Linked DNA regions of Homo sapiens: region 2 is linked to region 1. Evidence: promoter capture Hi-C in human tissues and cell types (Jung and others, 2019). All regions are on one chromosome and are shown on one strand. The core of a region is centred on a gene start or on the middle of the fragment in contact, and the rest is flanking DNA. Distances in the headings are between cores, read along the strand shown. Region 1 holds the start of E2F5 (E2F transcription factor 5). Region 2 overlaps LRRCC1 (leucine rich repeat and coiled-coil centrosomal protein 1).

What was found. Contacts are between HindIII fragments. The study calls those that stand out against the background at their distance.
Region 2: a contact is called between a fragment that was not itself captured here and the fragment with the promoter of E2F5 in region 1, in 1 of the 25 tissues and cell types used here (stomach).

What each region holds. Positions count from the first base shown.
Region 1 is chr8:85,173,938-85,181,336 of GRCh38, forward strand. E2F5 (E2F transcription factor 5) reads left to right here and starts at 3,217. Exons shown (of 8, transcript NM_001951.4): 1 at 3,217-3,717. The coding sequence starts at 3,484. E2F5-DT (E2F5 divergent transcript) reads right to left here and starts at 3,104. Exons shown (of 3, transcript NR_134311.1): 1 at 2,894-3,104. RefSeq lists an enhancer at 2,878-3,047 and silencers at 3,148-3,677, 3,688-4,077. The HindIII fragment of the contact is 23,089 bases long and covers 1-7,399 here.
Region 2 is chr8:85,126,063-85,133,461 of GRCh38, forward strand. It overlaps LRRCC1 (leucine rich repeat and coiled-coil centrosomal protein 1), which reads left to right. Exons shown (of 19, transcript NM_033402.5): 9 at 627-775; 10 at 3,113-3,317; 11 at 3,857-3,996; 12 at 5,698-5,899. Among named protein-coding and RNA genes, the nearest start is that of LRRCC1, 23 kb to the left of the region's middle. The HindIII fragment of the contact is 4,731 bases long and covers 2,497-7,227 here.

The DNA.
Region 1 (7,399 bases), core at 1,967-4,466:
TTATGCATTTATTACCCTTATAGGTCAATGAAATATAGTTTAGTTCAATTGGATTTTTTTTTTTTTTTTTTTTTTTAGGATAGATTCTCACTCTGTCACTCAGGCTGGATTGCAGTGGCAGGATGACAGGTCACTACATCCTTGACCTCTTGGGCTCAAGTGATCCTCTCACCTCAGCCTCTCTAGTGGCTGGGACTACAAGTGTGCACTACCACGCCCAGCTAATTTTTGTAGTTTTTGTAGAAATGGGGTTTTGCCATGTTGTCCAGGCTGGTCCTGAGTTCCTGGGTTCAGGCAATCCTCTTCTCTCAGCCCTCCAAAGTGCTAGGATTACAGACAGGCGTGAGTGCCCAGCCAGGCGTGAGCACTCAGCCAGCTTTGACTTTTGTTGGAAATAATTTTTAAGCCTTTGTCAGAAATGGCACAAAGAACTGATGTAGGAATTTACAGCCTTTTGAGAGTTATCTCCTTTATAGTCAAAAGGATACAGAAATAAAAGTTAAATTACAAAACTGATCAATATCATGTTCTTAAACATTATTTGTATCATAACTTTTAAAAAATCATGTTTCTTAGTTTTTTTAAAAAATAGAATTTTTAAAAACATTTAGCAATATTTAAAAAACTTTTGCATTATCAATCTCTGTTTTTTGTCGATTTTTAGGAAAAATATATATTGCATTATTTTTCATTGTGCTATTTGGCGTTTCTCAAAGAATGACTATGTTGTGCATGAGAATTATCTGAACTGTGAAAAATGTGGACTCACAGGTCATATTCTCATATCAAATGCTAATTTGATCCCTGGGGTTTGGATCCAAGCATCTAGATTTTTAACAAACATTGTAGATGATTTTTTCCCCTAAGGTCTGGGAACCACTGGTATAAGCGATTTTTAGCTCTTCAGACAGACATAAGATTTTGAATGCTAATTAAAATGGCTGCTAATTTGTGAATAATTTCTAATTGAACCCCAGGCAATCTAAAGAGATAAAAAATTCATTGTGAAAAACACAAATAACAGTGCAAAATAAATTGTTAATTGACCTTTTAGAATCACTAATAATATAATTGCTTTGTAGAAAACCTTTTAAAGCTGAAATTTAAAAAATATTGTTTTTAAAAATTACCAAGATAGCTACTATAAAATATGATTACATGCCATGGGATGAACTATATCTCCCCAACATTTGTATGTTGAAACCCTAACCCTCGGGCCTTTGGGAGGTGATTAGGTTTAGATGAAATCGTGAAGATTGAGCCCTCAGATGGAATTAGTGCCCTTATAAGAAATCTGAGAGCTTATGCTGTCTCTGTTCTGTCTGTCTTTCTCTCTCTCTCTGCCATTTGACACAATGAGAAAGCCACAATCTGACAGCCAAGAAGGGGGCCCTCACCACAACCTGGCCATGGCAGCCTCCTGATCGTCGACTTGCAGCCTCCAGAACTGTGAGAAAATTAATTTCCGTTAAGTCACCCAGTTTATGGTACTTTCTCAAACTAAGACACCATAGAAGTGTAAGTTTTAAAAATATTAATACATTTAGTGTTATTAATTCCTGTCCCTGCACATATAACACAATGTTCTGTTATAAAGTTAAAAACAAATTAGAATCTTCCTAATTCAGTATGTTCTAAGAAATACTACTTGACAATAATCAATAAAATAAATTTGCAAAACTTGTCAATGATGTGTCCCATGTCAAATCAAATAAAGATAGCCTTTCTTGGATAGGTTGTTGGAAAATGGTTGTATCAACTGAATTTTTCATGTTTTACTTCAGATTTTCAATTTTAAGTTTTGTTTATAGATTTGATTAAAATAAAGGTTATTATGAATAGGTTATTAATAAAGGTTATAAAGTTCTGTGCCTATGATGTGTTATAAATGGTGTGTTCAGCTTTACTAGTTAATGCTGTTGTATTTGATGTCGCTTCAGTGACCTTTTTTGTTAGTTTATTGTTACTTAAAATTAAGCAAAATCTTTCTTGCATGAAATCTTCTTGATTAATTATTGCCATATAGAATTTTCATTCACCTAATCTTTTTTTTTTTTATTTGAGACAGAGTCTTGCTTTGTTGCCCAGGCTGAAGTGCAGTGGTGGCATCTCGGCTCACTGCAACACTGCAACGTCTGCCTCCTGGGTTTAAGAGATTCTCCTGCCTCAGGCTCTGGAGTAGCTGGGACTATAGGCGGGCACCACCACCCCCCGCTAATTTTTGTATTTTTAGTAGAGACGGGGTTTTACCATGTTGGCCAGGTTGGTCTCGAACTCCTGATCTCAAATGATCTGCCTGCCTCGGCCTCCCAAAGTGCTGGGATTACAGGCGTAAGCCACCGCGCCTGGTCTCATTCGCCTAATCTTTATTGTCTACTATATTCAAAGTGTTGAGTGTGACAACAAGTCATTTAAAATTTAGTCTGGATTCTCAAGAGTTTGTAATATAATGAGGAAAAAATCCCAACGACTTTCTTTTACTCAGATCTCCATAATGTCATTTGCCATCAATAGTTTGGAATATCACTGAAGTCCAAGGGCCTGTGGCTACCCAATATTCCAAATACAATATAATTTGGTTCAAATAAGATATTAAGAACTTTGGTCAAGAACTTTGGTCAAACACAGGAGATCTGGAATCTAACGGCATGTCTTTGGCAATTCACAACCTCTCCCTCTACACGTTTCTCCATGTAGAAAGTAAAGGCCTTGGAAAGGATTGATGAAAACCAACCCTAAAACTCCACGATGCCTTTTTCTGTACTCCGAATCTAAAAGGGTGAGCTATGAAGTAAAACTCTGCACTTGGTCCAAGTCATTGAAATATTTGCAAACGATGCTAGAGCTCGAAAAGAGCAAAGATAGCAGAAACCGTCCAGAGAAAGTAACCTACTGCTGAAGCTCTGCAAACTTGAGCAGTCAACCAACTTCACCGCTCACAAACGTTTGGCCGCTAGGCATTGTGACTTTCTGCCCAGATAAAAGTCTTTTTTTCTTTTGTCTCCTTTTTTTCTTCCTCCCTGCTTTGCCGCGTGAGATTACCACTCCTCGGGTCAGCTCGCGAACGCCAGGGAGGCGAGTGTGAAACACACGCGCCAACACCCCTCCTCCTCCTCGTGCGCTCCTCCTTCCTACAGAAAAATGTGTTTCTAGGCAACGGCGGGCGGCGGCGTCACTTCCTGCCATTTAAACTCAGGTCCCCACCCCTCGCAGCCCCTTCTCCTCGTTTCCACCCCTCCCCCCTCGGTCGTGGGCCTCATTCACGCTTCCCCGGGCTTGGGGAGGGGGCGGAGGCCCGGCGTGACAAGCGGCCCAGACTCCCGTGGGCGCCGCACACCTGTTGTTTGCAGCAGCCAGCGACCCGCACTACCGCTCTCGGCGGGCGGGGAAGCGGCCGCAGCGGAGCCGACCCGGCAGGTGGCCGCGGGCGGGGCCGGCGAGCGAAAGTGCGCGGGGGCCCGACCACCGCGGGGCCGGGACGCGATGGCGGCGGCAGAGCCCGCGAGCTCGGGCCAGCAGGCGCCGGCAGGGCAGGGGCAGGGCCAGCGGCCGCCGCCGCAGCCTCCGCAGGCGCAAGCCCCGCAGCCGCCCCCGCCGCCGCAGCTCGGGGGCGCCGGGGGCGGCAGCAGCAGGCACGAGAAGAGCCTGGGGCTGCTCACTACCAAGTTCGTGTCGCTGCTGCAGGAGGCCAAGGACGGCGTTCTGGATCTCAAAGCGGTGAGCTCCGGAGGCGGGGACGGGGGCGGACTTCGGAACCCGTGGCCCCCGGGGAAGCCCAGCCCCTCGCCGCGTGGGTCTAGCGGCGTGGTGTAGACGCGCCTTGCGGGGACCCGGGACCGGGCAATCCGAGGACCATGTGGCCTGCGCCCGGGTCGTGGACGCCGGGATGGGGGAGGGACGAGGGACCAGGATGGCACCGAGCGGACGCGTAACCAATGGGGCCCGGCGCCACGCTGGGCTCTCGACAAAGAGCCCAGGACCTCGAGCGCGCCCGCGTGGCTTCTGTCTCCGGGCGCAGGGACCTGAGGGTAACCGAGTGTCTGTTGCTCTGCGTCCACCTGTGGCAGAGGCTCACGGGGTAACGGGCGCTTTGCCCGGAGACACCGTGGATATCGATTTTGCTGTTAAGAATGGATGGTTTTAATAGGCGATTCCAGTTGGAACCATGTTCCTGTAGTTTAAATAAAAAGGAGGAAAAACAAAACCCAGTCTGCCATCTCTACCAGATGAAAGAAAAAAAAAAAAGAGTACTTCTTTCCACGCCCCTCCCCGATAAAATAGTATTAAATCTTCCTTGTGCACTTCTTTCATCACCCTGATAGTTAGGAGGGGTATTTGATTTGTGACTTCATTTGGCATGTGTCATGGGTTTCCAAAAGTGAGATCTGCTGTCACACGAAAAGGGGATATTTTACAACTTTCACCCAAAGAGGTGGAAGTGCTCAGTAAACTCTCTCCCTGCGTCGTCCTTTACAGCGTTCAGATTTTTCAAACAGGAGCAGGCATCAAAAGCTGTTCTGTCATACAGAATGACTTAACCGATCTAGGAAGGATTTGGAAGAATTCAACAGCGCTCAGGATAATGAGAATGTGGTCACTCCGCGCGAAGTTTAAGAACTAAAGTTTTAGAAACAAACAAACAAAAAACACTAACTGCCCAATAATCACTGCAAATCCCCTTTGACTCCCTAAATGTGGCCTTACTTGGAGGATTGGCCCCAGCTCCCAGGGGAGTGCCTGGACCACCTTACCTGGCTTGAGAGTGTCACTGCATCCTCAAGGCTCTGCATAAAGCAGTGGCAGCTCCCTGAATGTAAGGACCAAGACTTGCAGGGGCCAACTCTTCTGCTAGAGGCCCTCCTCCAGTGTAGCCCAAGGGGAAGTAGATCTTTTCAGTGCCCTCTCCTTTCCCTGGATGTAGTTGGTGTTCAATCAGTGATTGTTGAACTGAATTACCTAAATTGTTCAACTTCATACAACTGAGGCATGCTGCACATATTTTGCATTTTGGTAAGTAATTTCTACTATTTTCTTTTTGATATGTTATTCCTGGAATTTTTTTCCCACCTCTGGAAATTCCTTGTTCTCTTTTTTCCACCACAGCCCCTTCTTCCTTTCTCTCCCTGAAAGTGATTTATGGCATGTGTAGTATTTAAATTGTAGTGAATTAAAATGGATTCTGTTTAAAGAATTTCACAGGAAGTCATGAAGTTATCAGAGAAAGCCAGGAATGTTACAAAGCACAGGTGGCAAACTGCTGTTCAAAATCTAGAAATTCAGCTGTAGCCTGTGACTTTGGTGTAAGAAAATCAGGGAAGTTTGGGGTTTTCCAGGTAAAACTGAACTCTGACGGCTGGACTTTGAGGGCTTCTCCCTCAGCTTGCCTCAGGATATGGTGGAACTTTGCCCTTTCTTGACTTGAAATTCTTTAGCTTCCTCCTGTTTCATCTGTGGCTATATAATTGCCCTACAGAAGTCACAGAGGCAGTGAGTAGGATGTAAAGTTTGGTATTTCATGACAATAATTGCTTTATTCATTCTGGAACTCTCCTAAAAATTCAAAGGTTTCTACAATAACACTGTCTCATTATATTAATGACTTCATACTCCTAGAAAAGAGTTTGAATGTCTTTAGTTTTCATATATATGTATGAAAAACATATGTTTTATGTATTTTACGTATATTTTTCATTTATTTATATATACTTATATATGTAAAAATCTTTTTTTTTTCTTTTTTGAGACGGAGTCTTGCTCTGTCGCCCAGGCTGGAGTGCAGTGGCGCGATCTGGGCTCACTGCAAGCTCCGCCTCCCGGGTTCACGCCATTCTCCTGTGTCAGCCTCCCGAGTAGCTCGGACTACAGGCGCCCGCCAGCGCACCCAGCTAATTTTTTTGTAATTTTAGTAGAGACAGGGTTTCACTGTGTTAGCTAGGATGGTCTCGATCTCCTGACCTTGTGATCCACGCGCCTCGGCCTCCCAAAGTGCTGGGATTACAGGCGTGAGCCACCGCGCCCGGCCAAAAATCTTACATTGAAATCTTTCCAATGATATTTCTTATTATACACCATAGTAAAAGATCGTTAAAGCCTTTTTTTTTTGAGACTGAGTCTTGCTCTGTCACCCAGGCTGGAGTGCAGTGGCAGATCTCTGCTCACTGCAACCTCCACCTCCCGGGTTCAAGCGATTCTCCTGCCTCAGCCTCCCAAGTAGCTGGGATTACAGGTGCCCGCCACCATGCCCGACTCATTTTTGTATGTTTAGTAGAGAAGGGGTTTCACCATGTTGGCCAGGCTGGTCTCGAACTCCCAACCTCAAATGATCTGCTTGCCTCAGCCTCCCAGAGTGCTGGGATTACAGGCGTGAGCCACCATACCCAGCCCATTAAGACATGTTTGATAATACATATTAAAGATGGACTCACACTGACAATTATAAATTTCCTCTAATTTGAAATTATAAAGACACATTTTCTCTTGTATTCTTACTTTGGTGGGGGCATATTTCAGCATAATTTTTTTGAAACTTTTAAGTTATACACTTGACTTTTAAACGCAGTTAAAGAAACTATACATATATATATATATATATATATATATATATATATATATATATATGGTTTTTTGGTTGGTCTTGTTTTTTTTTTTTTTTTTTTTTGAGACAGAGTCTCGCTCTGTGGCCCAGGCGGGAGTGCAGTGGCGCAATCTCGGCTCACTGCAAGCTCCGCCTCCCGGGTTCATGCCATTCTCCTGCCTCAGCCTCCCGAGTAGCTGGGACTACAGGCACCCGCCATCACGCCCGGCTAATTTTTTTTGTATTTTTAGTAGAGACGGGGTTTCACCATGTTAGCCAGGATGGTCTCGATCTTCTGACCTCGTGATCCGCCCGCCTCGGCCTCCCAAAGTGCTGGGATTACAAGCGTGAGCCACCGCGCCCGGCCGGTCTTGTTTGTTTTTTGAGACAGGGTCTTATTCTGTCGCCCAGGCTGGAGTGCAGTGGTACAATCTCAGCTCATTGTAACCTCCACTTCCCGGGCTCAAGTGATTCTCCTGCCTCAGCCTACCAAGTAGCTGGCACTACAGGCGTACACCATTATGCCTGGCTTATTTTTATATTTTTAGTAGAGACAGGGTTTTGCCATATTGCCCAGGCTGGTCTCGAACTCCTGAGCTCAAAGCTATCTGCCTACCTTGGTCTCCCCTGTGAGCCACCGCTTCCGGCCTTGAAGAAACAGTTTTTGAATATCCCAAAGAATAAAAAAGTATATCAAACTTCAAGTAAAATATCCAAATATTTTGGATATCATAAAGTATCCTAGACCACATAGATGCTATTTCTTTTCTATCTTATGCTGCTGGAGAATAAGAACGTAAGGTTGTATCTTAGTGACACATTTCT
Region 2 (7,399 bases), core at 3,612-6,111, 46 kb before region 1:
TTTATATTCCCTTGCGTGCCTTGGTAAGGACTCTGTTTCCTTAATACAGAGTCTGGCATGTGGGTGCCATGCTATGAGTATATACTATTTCAAAAAAGGAATCTTATCTACTATGGCATAATAATAGCAGCTAACATTTATTGATTGGTTATTATGTAGCAGGCACTGTTCTGCACTTACCTACATGCTTTGCTACCAGTAACATAATTTTTGGCCCGGCGCAGTGGCTCACACCTGTAATCCCAACACTTTGGGAGGCCGAGGTGGGTGGATCACTTGAGGTCAGGAGTTCGAGACCAGCCTGGCCAACGTGGTGAAACCCCATCTCTACTAAAAATACAAAAAAACAGCCAAGCTTGGTGGCACATGCCTGTAGTCCCATCTACTCGGAAAGCTGAGGCAGAAGAATTGCTGGAATCCAGGAGGTGGAGTTTGCAGTGAGCTGAGATCATGCCACTCCACTCCAGCCTGGGTGGCAGAGTGAGACTCAAAAAAATAAAATAAAAAGTTTCACTGTAGCTCTTTGAAGTAGGTACTATTATTCCCCTGTTATAAATGGGAAAATTGAGGCTGTGAGAAGTTAGGTAACTTTTCTAAGTTCACATAACTTTGTTGTTTTCTTTCAGTCCCTTGTTGAACAGCTAGACCAAGAGAGAGAGAAGAGATGGAGAGCTGAGCAAGCCGAAAATAAACTCATGGATTATATTGATGAGCTGCATAAACATGCAAATGAAAAAGAGGATATTCATAGTCTGGCTCTACTTACCACAGATAGGTAAAAAGAAATTAATAAACCTGAAGATACCTCATAGCATAAACAATACTGACTTTAGAACTGGAATACATTAGTTTCAGTGTGGTTCAATCAACAACAATGTATGTGGTTTTAGTTTGATTTGAACTAATTTTATTAGACAATTTAGCACTTTATTAGCTTGTTATATCAACAAGAAATTCAGGTACATGTATTTGAGCCCTCAAGCAGGAAGGTGTCAGATAAATATTATAAGTAAAGAACAGCAAGAGACTAGAGCAGTGATTAACAAACTTTATGTAAAGTGCCAGATTCTGTAAAGGGCAGGCATTGGCAGCCTTTTTCTTTAAGCTTCATGGGTCATATTTGATCTCATCACATACTTATCTTCTGCAATGGGCTTTTGTATCATATAGCCCAGTTTCTTAATTCTGATGTTTTTATTCTATCCTCACCATTACGTCTCCCATTTTATCTGGGTTTTTTGTTTTGTTTTGTTTTGTTGTATTGCATTCTTTAATACAGGTCTGTCATTTCATTCTGTGAAAATACCAGTTTTTTAAATTACAATAACTTTTTTTCTTCTGTTTCCTGTAATTATTTCTAACGTCATGCTTTTCCTCAAATGATTATAACATGTTTAGAGTTTCTTATGGTTTCTTACCCTTGAATGAGCACTAGGTTTTTAGACTTGACATTTGCTAACACACTTTGGGAAGTTGCTCTTGGTTCCATTTCTTGTCTGATTGTGCAGTGGATAATTCCCCTTCTAAAATCTGATTTGGATAAGTTGATGTACACAGTTCACAGCCCAGTTCCCGATTTCTTTTAGGCACTTTTGTGATACTGACGTGGTGTTTTCTACCCCACTGCATGTTTCTCTGATAGGTTGTACCTGTGGAGTATAAGGACAATTCTAATACGCAACATGCATGCTATGAGAACCTCTATAATTATAAAGCTGTGATGCGTTATGTTATCACTAGCCCTTCTACCACTACCCACCAACTTCCTGCCTTATTTGTGTTTTATAAATGTCTGTCTGAATTGACACAAGAAGCTACTGGGTATGGATGAGGGAACAGGATGTCTCAATTAAGAGTGCTCTGACTACCTCAGAAAAACAGCACTCCTGCTTTCAGTAAGTGCATGAGTAACCAACATTATGTAGTGACAGATTTATAGAGATCTTGTGACTGAGTCATGGACAGATAGTAGAAGAGAAAAGATATGTCTTCCTTTTTTCAGAATGGAGCAGTTTCATGAGGCAAAGCCTGAGTGTTGTAGGAGTTGTTTTTAATTTCAATTTAGTTCCATTTGCCTTGTAATTGAAATTATTCCCAAATTTTGGCATTCTCTTATCCTTTGTTTTCAGTTATATGTGTATGAATTTTTACTTTATTCTGTATTCTAGGTATTTAGTGGGATATTAGAGGACGCTGTGTCTAGGGCTGCTAGCCAAAGTCCATTTAAACTGGAAGACTTTGGGCACACTTTATCTTTCTTCTTACTTAACCTATTGTTGTGCCCGTGTTTCCCAAGTTATGTATTCATTTTTCTCATGAAAAATCAATCTTTTCTGATTCTTCTTTTATCTGTGCCACCCCCCCACCCCCCCCACCACCACATGTTTGTTTGAGATTAGATCCTTACCAATCTCCCTGTTCCCTTATGTGCCTTGGTAGGGACTCTGTATCCCTAATGCAGGGTCTGGCATGTGGGTGCCATGCTGTGAGTATATACAATTTCAAAAAATGAATCTTACCTACTATGGTATCTTTATTATCCAAACCTCCTTGATGACCAGATCTGTTCATCTAATTATCTACTAAAAATGCCTTGCCTGTATTCCTCATAAGTTTCTTAAGATCACCATGGCCTCAGGTGGATTCATTCTTCTTCCTTATTTTATATTTCTTGCCCTAATAAATGGTGCCCCATCCAGCATCCAGTCAGTCACCAAAACTATAGAAATCTAGGAATCTTTGTTTTTTGCTTCCTTTCTCTTTCTCCTATCCCACAACCAGTTGATATTACCATCTTTATTGATACTTTTATTCATCAATTGATATTGATATCATCTTAAAAGATGTTGAACTATCTCCTCTGTATCCCAAAACTGTTACCTTTCTTTAGGCCCTTAACTGTTGCTTAGATGATTGTTCCATTTCTGTTTCTCTGTGGCTTTCCCTGCCCCTACCCATATACAGTCTAGCACGCTTTCATATAGCATATCAAACAGGAGTTGAGAGCATGAACAAAGGAAGACCAGTTCAGAGAGTACTCTCATTGAAGTCAACAATTTTATCATTTTTATATGTGTAATATACTTAACACCACATATAACTTCTGCTTTAGGCTAAAGGAAATTATTTTTAGAGAGAGAAATTCCAAAGGACAACTCGAAGTTATGGTTCACAAACTTCAAAATGAAATTAAAAAACTGACTGTTGAACTAATGAAAGCAAAAGATCAACAAGAGGATCACCTTAAACACTTAAGAACCCTCGAAAAAACATTAGAAAAAATGGAGAGACAAAAAAGGCAGCAGCAGGCAGCACAGGTATTTCTCTATTTTAATATATGAGTAGCACAGATTAACACAAATTCATAGCTTCTATCGTGAAACAAATTATACTACCTAGAAAACCTAAAAGATGTAAGGCCATATGCAAAAATTAAATTGCTGTTAATTTAACGGTCACATAGCCTGTTGAATTATGTCTAAATTAAGACTACTAGCTCTTAACACAAAGCAATTAAAAAGAAAAGTTGATGGAAATGTTGCAGGTGGTTAGGCTTTTATTCTGAGAGAGCTGGCTTTTTAAAAGGCTTTCAGGTGATTGAAGGAATTTCATTTTCATGCTTTCTGAATGGAAATTATCATTAAAATCTGTGATGCAAATAAGCAATAGTTAATGCTAGTGTATTTGTTCCTTCCAAGGCTGCACTTTGTGTGACTGTAACATCATTAATTTATTAAAGTTTGAAAATCAACTTAGTCACCGGACACTGTCATTTAAAAGGTACTTATGGAAACTGACATTAAAATAGCAGGGGAGACTATTATCTAAATAATGTAATTGTGGGTATTTTACTCAGATAAGACTGATCCAAGAGGTGGAACTCAAAGCTTCAGCTGCCGATAGAGAAATATACTTACTTAGAACTTCCCTTCATCGAGAAAGAGAACAAGCGCAACAACTTCATCAACTTCTTGCATTGAAAGAACAGGAACACAGGTAAATGAAAAATGTATCAGGAATGTATTGGCATTTAAAAAAAGAAAAAGAAAGCTACTGGTTCCCCACTACCAGTATTTTTTTTTTTTTTTTTTGAGACGGAGTCTTGCTCTGTCGTCCAGGCTGGAGTGCAATGGCGCAATCTCGGCTCACTGCAAGCTCTGCCTCCCGAGTTCACGCCATTCTCCTGCCTCAGCCTCCCGAGTAGCTGGGACTACAGGCGCCCGCCACCATGCTGGCTAATTTTTTTTTTTTTTGTATTTTTAGTAGAGATGGGGTTTCACCATGTTAACCAGGATGGTCTCGATCTCCTGACCTCATGATCTGCCCCACTCGGCCTCCCAAAGTGCTGAGATTACAGGCATGAGCCACCGCGCCTGGCCCCCACCACCAGTATTTAAAGATAGTGATTGAGCATTGGTGAAGTCTGACAGAATTAGTTAGTGGAAAATGCCGTGTTCATGTATGTATACATTAGAATCAGCCCTATAGCAAGAACTAGTAGCTAAAAAATGAATAGTTGCCTTTGTTATCAGCATTTGAGGTATAGGTTTATAACAATATAGCTTATTGTTCATTTCTTCAAACCCAGCCAAAAGTTGGTCTTTATATAGAGAGAAAATTTTTAATTGACCCCCAAGTTAATTAATTAGTAAATTAATCAGTATTCTTTATTCCTCTGAAGGAGGGGTCAGTGAACTTTTTCTGTAAAGGGTCACATAGAAAATATTTCAGGCTCTGCAGGCCATACCTAACTTTGCCTTTGTAGCACAAAAGTAGCCATAGATAATACATAAATGAACGGCATGGCTGTGTTCCAATAAAAGTGTATTTACAAAGAAAAAGGCAGTAGGTCACATTTGGCTGATGGGCTGTAGTTTCTCAACTCTTGCTCTACAGAATCTGTAATAATTTCAACATTTTCAGTTTATCTATTTCAGTTATCTATTTACTATCCTACCAGTGAAATTGTATGATTATCATATGTTAATTGTATTTATTCCGAAACCTGTTTTGTTTTGTGTCTACATAAATTTTGGTGCTCTGGGGAAAATTGTTATCTTGTATAGATGAGACAATTATAAAAGATTGGGGGAAAATAATCACAAAAATCTAGAATTTTGTACTTTGTTTCCTTTACAGGAATTTTGTACTTAGTTTCCTTTACTTAGTTTCATTCCAGTTTAAAGAAACCAAAAACTGGAAATAATGGGTTTCACATTATGAGTTTGAGTAATGCAAGAAAAGTAGTGGAGAACCGTAAAGAATGAACTAACTGGCCCAATATCAAAAGATTAGTAAATAATTTTACACTTTAACTGACTTTTTCTATTAACAAACCACCAGTGCTAATCAGACTGTATTTATTGCAAGTCAAAGACTCGGCCAAAGTAGTAGATACAGTGAAGCATCTTATGCAAATGCATCTGAAGAATTTCTGAAGCCATAGAATGATTCTGAACTATCTCATGAAGTTAAGATTTGACATACTTCCCTTATCTCCATCACTATTAAATACACAATCAAATAAAACTCATATTATTTGTACCTATCTATGCCCAATTACTGCGTTTGAAAGTGAGAGGCTGATACTGAATTAACAATACTGAATATAGAATATTAAGAACTACGTAAAGACCTTTAAAATGTTTCTTTTCAGGTGAGTATCATCCTTTTATCTTTATATGTTTTTCACTCCAGGAAGGAACTTGAAACAAGGGAGTTTTTTACTGATGCTGACTTCCAGGATGCCTTAGCTAAAGAAATAGCCAAAGAAGAGAAAAAGCATGAGCAAATGATAAAAGAATACCAAGAGAAAATTGACGTGTTAAGCCAGCAGTATATGGATTTAGAAAATGAATTCCGTATTGCTTTAACTGTTGAAGCCAGAAGATTTCAAGATGTAAGAATTGGCACCCAGCTTTTTATTGAAAACAGAATCAGTAAGATATGGTTTGATGAGAGGACTTGTTTTAGAAACATAGCTGTATTAAATGTTGGCTTCATAATCTTAAGTAAAATATATAAATTCTTAGAGGCCTTAGTTTCCTCAAATAAATAATAGCTACTATTTACTGCTCTTGCAAAAACTAAGTAAGATTATAAATGTTATAGAGCACTGGAATAGGAATCTGAGAACCTGAATTCCCTCCTATTACTGTAGAGCAGGGATTGGCAAAACTAAAGCCCCCAGGCCAAATATGGCCCACTGCCTATTTCTCTTTAAAGTAAAGCTTTTTTGGAACAGAGCCATGCTCATTTTTTACATATTATCTATGGCTGCTTTTCCATTACAAAAGCACAGTTGAGTACTTTCTTTTTTTTTTTTTTTTTTTTTTTTTTTTGTTTCAGATAGAGTCTCGCTCTGTTGCCCAGGCTGGAATGGTGCAGTGGCATGATCTTGGCTCACTCCAATTTCTGCCTCCCAGATTCAAGCAGTTCTGCTGTCTCAGCCTCCCAAGTAGCTGGGACTACAGTCACAGGCCACCACGCCCGCCTAATTTTTGTATTTTTAGTAGAGACAGGATTTCATCATGTTGGTCAGGCTGGTCTCGAACTCCTGATCTCAGATGATCCGCCTGCCTCGGCCTCCCAAAGTCCTGGGATTACAGGCGTGAGCCACTGTGCCCAGCCGTAGTTGAGTACTTTCAACAGAGTTCATATGGCCTGGCCTGTATAGCCTAACAGTTTACTGTCTGGTACTTTCTAGAAAAAGTTTGGTAACCCCTGCTATAGAGGAATAATTGTGCTCCTCTGACCAGTCCCACCAAACGTATAGTAGATCCCATTTCCTCTTGCCTACTTAAAGATATGGCTTCAGTAAGTCTTCTTTCTTACTCTCTTACATCTTCAGTTTTTCCGCTATATTGGATCATTCCCTTCAGCATACAAACATGCTGTGATTTCTCTTATCTTAAGAAAACTCTCTTGATTCCATTTCTTCCTTTGACTACTATGTTGTTTCTCTGCTTCCATTTACAACAGAACATATCAAAATTGTGCATTTGCTGTCTTTGATTTCTCTACTTCTCTCTTCTCCAACCTGCTCTCATCTGGCTTTTATCTCTATTGCTCTACTAGCATTGCGCTATCAAAGCCACCAGCAATATCCACACTATGAAAGTTGTGAGTCAAATTTGTCCTCATCTGATTTGACCTAGGTGCAGGATTAGACAGGGTTGATAGCTTTCTCCTCTTCCATACTCTTTCTTTGCTTGGTTTCCAGCACACTGCATTTCTTGGTTTTCTTGGCTTTCCATTACGTCACTTCTTTTCAGTCTCTTTGTTTCTCTTTTGTCCACAGTTTCATTATTGCAGTGCCCAAGTTTTCAGCCCTTAAATTCCTTTTCTTTTCTATACACACTCATTCTCTTGGTAAACTCCTCTAGCATCATTATATCTC